2 separate regions of the Homo sapiens genome follow, and region 1 is linked to region 2. The links are contacts of gene promoters, found by promoter capture Hi-C in human tissues and cell types (Jung and others, 2019). All regions are on one chromosome and are shown on one strand. Each heading gives the region's core, a stretch centred on a gene start or on the middle of the fragment in contact. The rest is flanking DNA. Distances are from core to core; before and after follow the strand shown. Region 1 overlaps LOC105369657 (a long non-coding RNA gene). Region 2 holds the start of KLRK1 (killer cell lectin like receptor K1).

The links. The method cuts DNA at HindIII sites, captures the fragments that hold promoters and counts their contacts. A contact is called where the count stands out against the background at its distance.
Region 1: a contact is called between a fragment that was not itself captured here and the fragment with the promoter of KLRK1 in region 2, in 1 of the 25 tissues and cell types used here (stomach).

Annotation. Positions count from the first base shown.
Region 1 is chr12:10,530,038-10,533,597 of GRCh38, forward strand. All of the region lies in intron 1 of LOC105369657 (a long non-coding RNA gene), which reads right to left. Among named protein-coding and RNA genes, the nearest start is that of LINC02446, 22 kb to the right of the region's middle. The HindIII fragment of the contact is 6,729 bases long and covers 1-3,560 here.
Region 2 is chr12:10,388,314-10,391,467 of GRCh38, forward strand. KLRK1 (killer cell lectin like receptor K1) reads right to left here and starts at 1,728. Exons shown (of 8, transcript NM_007360.4): 1 at 1,630-1,728; 2 at 458-562. The coding sequence starts at 497. It overlaps KLRC4-KLRK1 (KLRC4-KLRK1 readthrough), which reads right to left. Exons shown (of 13, transcript NM_001199805.1): 7 at 458-562. The coding sequence starts at 497. All of the region lies in intron 3 of KLRK1-AS1 (KLRK1 antisense RNA 1), which reads left to right. The HindIII fragment of the contact is 5,458 bases long and covers 1-3,154 here.

The sequences.
Region 1 (3,560 bases), core at 77-2,576, 140 kb after region 2:
TGTGTTGCTTCCACTCTTTTTAAGAGTTGTATAGGCTTACATTTATCATCATTTAATATTAATAGAGCAACTGATATACACCTGTCCCTAAAAGTATGGGGCAAACCACCAAAGACAGGTAATTATTAACAATTTTAGTTTTTGGCATTTTAATACTAAACTTCAAGGTTTATTAAATAAAATAAATATAAGAGGTTCTTGAAAATCTAGCAAACTATATAGGCTTAGATATTTTATCAACAATATCTATAAAATATTATTGTCAGAGTATAGGTATATCATATCTATTTTCTTTTAAGGATTTTAACTTTGTAACTATTTTGAATAAAGGATGAGGTTATTATTAATTGGTTGATTATAAAGACCATTTTCCCAAAGCTTTCCTCTCTCCTTAAAACACCCACACACTTTTGTACCCAAAAATATCAATGTATTTTTAATGTTTCTTCAATTGTTTCCTATACTTCTTTTCTACCTCAACTTGTGTTTATCTTTTAATGTCCACTGAAATTATATTTATGTTCACCAAGTCTAGCCAGTATTAAATTTTTTAAAAACTGAAATGACATTTAATAAAAGAATAAAGTTAATAGAAATCAAGATACAACCCCAAGATGAAATAAGTGAATAAGCACATAAAATAAGAGAGAGAGATAGAGGCTCATGATAACATGAATAGAACACAGCAGAATGATATCAGGATATAGCTGAATTAATGTGAACTTTATAATATAGCAGGCAGCATGCATAAAATTTTGAAATGATTTTTCAAAAACAAAAACAAAAATCCAAGAGGTAATAGGTTTTTATTTTTTATTTTTAATATTGTGTATTTCCTATATACTGTTATTTTCACCTATCTTTAAAATTTTTAAATTGGTAAAAGTTAGGTGACTGTAGCTTAGCTTCTAAGGCAAAGGGAGAATCTTTAGTTCAGTAAACCTGTCACCAAAAACAAAACATTATATAATAAAAATAGGGATTGTTTTTCTCATATTTTGCATTTTTACATATCTTTAATTGTATTTCCTGTTTTAAACTGACAGTTATGAAATAATGGTCAGTTATGGTTTATATGAAATAATGGATGAGTTTGAATATATGAAATAATGGTTGAGTTATGTTTTATACAGAAAATACCAAAATGACTCTCTTATGTTTTCTAGTGACCAATTTTTAATGTCATTTTGATGGAAGCAATAATGCAAAAAAAACTTTAAAAAATTTTTGGTTTTCCAGAAGTATAGATACTGAGTCTATCATTACTTGAGGTGTTTAATAAAAAATAAGATGGTCATAATTTGGAGATGAAGGAGATGTAATGACCAAATACAATGTGGAGGCCTGGATATGATTCTAGAACAGAAGACAGACATTCATGGGAAAAATGGGTGAAAGCTGAATGACGTTTTCAGCACAGTTAACAGTAACATACCAGTATAGGATGCCTAGTTTTGACAAATGTAAGATGTATCATCTTATGGTAATGTAAGACAATAACATTAGGGGAAAGTGAAACTCACTCAAGGATCTATGGGAACCTTCTACACTATCTCTGCAAGTTTTTTAGAAACCTAAAGTTATCCCTGCAGGATTTAAAAAATACCATGAAAAGGGTAAATCTAAGAGTTATTGGCCTTACAGAGGAAGTAGAGAAACAGAAAGGAGTAGAATGTTTATTCAGAGGGATAATAACAGAACTTCCCAAACCTAGAGAAAGATATCAATATCCAAGTCCACAAAAGTTATAGAAGACCAAGCAGATTTAACCTAAGGAAGACTACGTCAAGCCATCTAATAATCAAACTCTCAAATTTCAAGGATAAAGAAAGGATCTTAAAAGCAGCAAGAGAAAAGAAACAACATACAATGGAGCTCCAATACATCTTCCAGCAGACTTTTCAGTGGAAACATTGCAGACCAGGAGACAGTGGCATGGCATATTTGAAGTGTTGAAGGGGAAAAAAAATAGGCATAAACAGTATAGCTGGTGAAAATATTCTTCAAACATGAAGGAGGAATAAAGACTTTCCAAGACAAAGAAAAGCTGAGTGATTTCATCAATACCAGACATGTCCTATAAGAAATGCTAAAGGGAGTACTTCAATCAGAAAGAAAAGGATGTTAATAAGCAATAAAGCATCTTCTGAAGGTACAAAACTCACTGGTAATAGTAAGTACACAGAACAACACACATATTATAACACTGTTACTGTGGTTTGTAAATTACTCATCTTAAGTAGAAAGAATAAAAGATGAACCAATCAAAATAATAATTACAACAACTTTTCAAGATGTAGTACAATAACACATAAAGAGAAACAACAAAGGTTAAAAAGCATGGAAATGAAGTTAAAACAGAGTTTTTATGAGTTTCCTTTTTCTTGTTAATTCATTTGTATTTGCAAGCAGTATTAAGTTGTAATCAGGTTAAAATAATGTGTTATAAGATAGTATTTGCAATTTTCATGGTAACCTCAACTCAAAAACATGCAACAGATACACACACACACACACACACAAAGCAGGCCAGGTGTTGTGGCTCACACCTGTAATCCCAGCACTTTGGGAGGTCAAGGTGGGCAGATCACCTGAGGTCAGGAGTTTGAGACCAGCCTGGCCAACATGACAAACCCCATCTCTACTGAAAATACAAAAATTAGCCAAGCATGGTGGTGCATACCTGAAATTCCAGCTACTTGGGAGGCTGAGACAGAAGAATTGCTTGAACCTGGTAGGCAGAGGTTGCAGTGAGCTGAGTTCATGCCACTCCACTCCAGCCTGGGTGACAGAGTGAGACTCCAGCTCAAAAAATAAAATAAAATAAATAAAATAAAAAGGAAATTAAATCATAACATTTGAGAAAATCACCTTCGCTAAAAGGAAGACAGGAAGGAAAGAAGGGAGAGAGACTACAAAACAATCAGAAAACAAACAACAAAATGGCAGGGGTAAGTACTTACTTATCAATAATAACATTGAATGTAAATGAACTCTCTAATCAAAAGACACGGAATGGCTAAATGGATTTAAAAAGCAAGACCCAATGATCTGTTGCCTACAAGAAAGACATTTCACCTACAAAGACACACAAAGACTGAAAATAAAGGGATGGAAACAGATATTCTATGACAATGGAAACCAGAAAAGAGCAAGAGTAGCTATACTTACATCAGACAAAATAGATTTCAAGACAAAAACTATAAAAAGAAACAAACGAGATCATTATACAATGATAAAAGGATCGATCCAGCAAGAGGATATAACACCTGTAAACATATATGCATACAATACTGGAGCACCCAGAAATACAAAGCAAATACTATTAGAACTAAAAAAAGAAGTAGAGACCATGGCAAGAATAGCTGGAGACTTCCACACTCCACTTTCAGCATGGAAAGATTATCCAGACACAAAATTAACAAAGAAACATCAGACATAATCTGCACTACAGACCAAATAGACCTAAAAGATATTTACTAACATTTCATCCAATGGCTGCAGAATACACATTCTTTTCCTCAGCGCATGGATCATTCTCAAAGGTAGACCACATGTTA
Region 2 (3,154 bases), core at 478-2,977:
CACCTTTAGGATAAAAAGTGCTTTAACATACATGTCAGTTGATTTGAATATTACACAAATCTAAGATAAATATGGAATGTTTCATGCCTGTATTTGATAGAAAAAGAAACTAAACTAAACTACACAGAGGTTGCAAATTGACCCTTCAAATCTAGAGAGCGGTAAAAGTTTGAGTAAAATTCAAGTCTGACTCCACATCTATTTCACTATTTCAAGCTGTCCCAAGTTGTGAGCGACTTTACCATAATATAGTTAATAAAATAAAGGGAAAAAAGTTTTTAAGTTTTGGAAGACTTGATTTAAAATACAATATGAACATAACATGAAATCAACATAAATAGAACATGAAAAGAATCAGAGTAAATTGCTTGCCTATGCCTTATATGCTTGTATGAAATTCTTGGTATCTTAAAATTGTATAAAAACAAAACTACACACTTATGTGGTAAAAACATACCCCAGCTGTGTCGAGACCTCCGACCACGAATCCACCCCATCAAATACTTATAAGTGCACGTCTACCGCAGAGAGGAATCTAAAGTCTTCAATGCACAAAGGATTCCTGAATAAAATAAAACTGGGCATTTGTTTTTTGTTCTCTTTCCCGTGGTGAGATAAAATATTTTGAATAGAAAAGTAAAATGCAGAAACTTTTCCCCTGTGCATGCCTTTAAGAAAAGAATAGAAATGACAATTCACATAAAGCCAGGCAAAATTAATTTTATACATTTCTCTTGGTTGTAAAATAATCGCCAATTACTTCAAAATGTCATAACAATATAATGAACCTATTAATTCACCTACATTGAGATATTTAATACCAATATTTTACTTTACTGATATTAGATAACAACACACCCAGTTTTCTGTTTATAGTCGTTTATTGCTTCTTGGCCTTTTAGCTAAGATCAAGTGTTTCCAGTTGTTTATTTTATCTGGCAATAATTTAGTTTTCTTTCTGCAAGCTAAACTCAGGTAAGTTATATGCACTTTTGTTGAATGTCCTTTTCTAGTGCATTTTAATCCAACGTGCCCATATCATCATCATCAACAAATTATCATCACCATCATCATTAACAAAACTAATCTCACATGTTTATATAGTAACATCTTAGCAATGCACAGCAGAGCTTCCAGAAAAAACCATTTAATAAATAAGCATAGTGCTTAGATTTCAAAAATAAAAGCTATTTCATATTTGATTATGATAGTTGGAAAGCACAGATATAACTTGTTTCACCTTGCATGTAAAGATGTGTATCAAAGGTAAGTGCCCCCTACAGCATCAGAAAACTCAAAAATTTGACAATTTAAATTGAATCTCAATTCTTCTCATCCTAAATGTAAAGATTCATTTTTCTAGTTTTGCTTAGAGACAAGGCTTCTTCTTATAGTAATATTACAACTTCTGATTCTTCAATAAGTATATCCTAATTACCTATCATCAGATACAGTGATAGAATATACATCAGAAATGATAAGCATTCCGTATCCTCAGGAGTTCTATTCAAGCATCTAAGAAACAATTAGAATTACCTTATAGTGTAAATATTTTTATTTTTTTGAGGTTGAAATATAATTTCTCATATCTTGAATAATAAACACACACACATACACACATACACACACCTGCTCAGAGAGGGAAGATCTTGATTCTTGTGGATAAAAGCCTTCTATAAAACTAGAAAATTTAGATATGTCCTCAGTTCCTGATCTAGAATTGAAAGTGGAGATACTTAGTGAATTTCTATCTTTGAGAAAGATGTGACAAATATTATAATCTCATCTTCCTGTGGAAAAACATAAACCACAGTACTTCCGCCTTATCACTACAAAAATATTGTTAATTTGGTAAAAGAGTTAAGACCACCCATTGTTGGATAAATGTTAGGTTGGTGCAAAAGTAATTGTAGTTTTGCCATTATTTTAAATAACATTTTAGGATTTGAAAATGATGAATTTAAATGATGCCATTTAATCCTAAATATTTTAGAGATTCAATTCAATTCCAGTTAATACCTCAGGTTTTGTTGTAGAACTTACAAAGCAGAATTCTACATGTACATTAAATTACAAAAGTCAAGACTAGGAAAGTCACAATTGAAGATGAAGAAAATGTGGGAGCCTTGTTTTACTAGATAGTAAGACCTATGTTAAAACCGTATTAATAAAGGCAAAGTGGCATGTGGGGCATAGATAGACAAATTGAGAAGGGTAAAAATACAGACAAGAAAAAGTCATGTGCATAGATTAAAAAATATAAGGTAACATTGCAGATAAAGTGGGAAATTAGCTCCTATTCAATAATTTGTCCTGGGTTACTATCACACTGGCCTTTAAGTTACAAAAAATTAGTCCTGGGAATTTTTAAATTTTAATATAAAAAACATGAAATTGCATCTCTGTCATATCTACATCATATGCAGGAGAATTAGAAACTTAAATATATACCCCAGTATACATAAGAATAATATATGAATTGATACCAATGAACAAGATAAGCTAAATATATATTTTATGTTTATTAATTTAAAATACTAACATAAGACATCATATAAAGTAATATAAGATGAACACATTATAACATTTTAACAAAAACCAAAGCTATTAATCTTAAAACTCTGAAATATAAGGAAGGAAAACAGCTTTCATGTGGTGATGTGTTAAAGTTGGACAATAAATTTATTCAACATTTTTTTTCTTTAGCGAATGCTATTTGCTATGCACTTTTCTAGATCTTGAGAATGTCAAAGTAAACAATCCAAAAGAAAGTTTTTGCCCACATGGAAATTAATTACTTTTTTTTTTTTTTTTTTTAAGAGATGGAGTTTCACTCTTGTTGTCCAGGCTGGAGTGCAACGGGGCGATCTCGGCTCACTGCAACCTCCGCCACCTGGGTTCAAGCAATTCTCCTGTCTCAGCCTCCAGAATAACTGGGATTACAGGCATGTGCCACCACACCTGGCTAATTTTTGTATTTCTAGTAGAGACGAGGTTTCACCATGTTAGTCAGGCTGGTCTCGAACTCCTGACCTCAGGTGATCCTCCTGCCTCAGCCTCCCAATGTGCTGAGATTACAGACGTGAGCCACCACACCCAGCTGGAAATTACTTTTTAGTTTAGGTGATATAAAATGAATAAGTATAAAACAAAT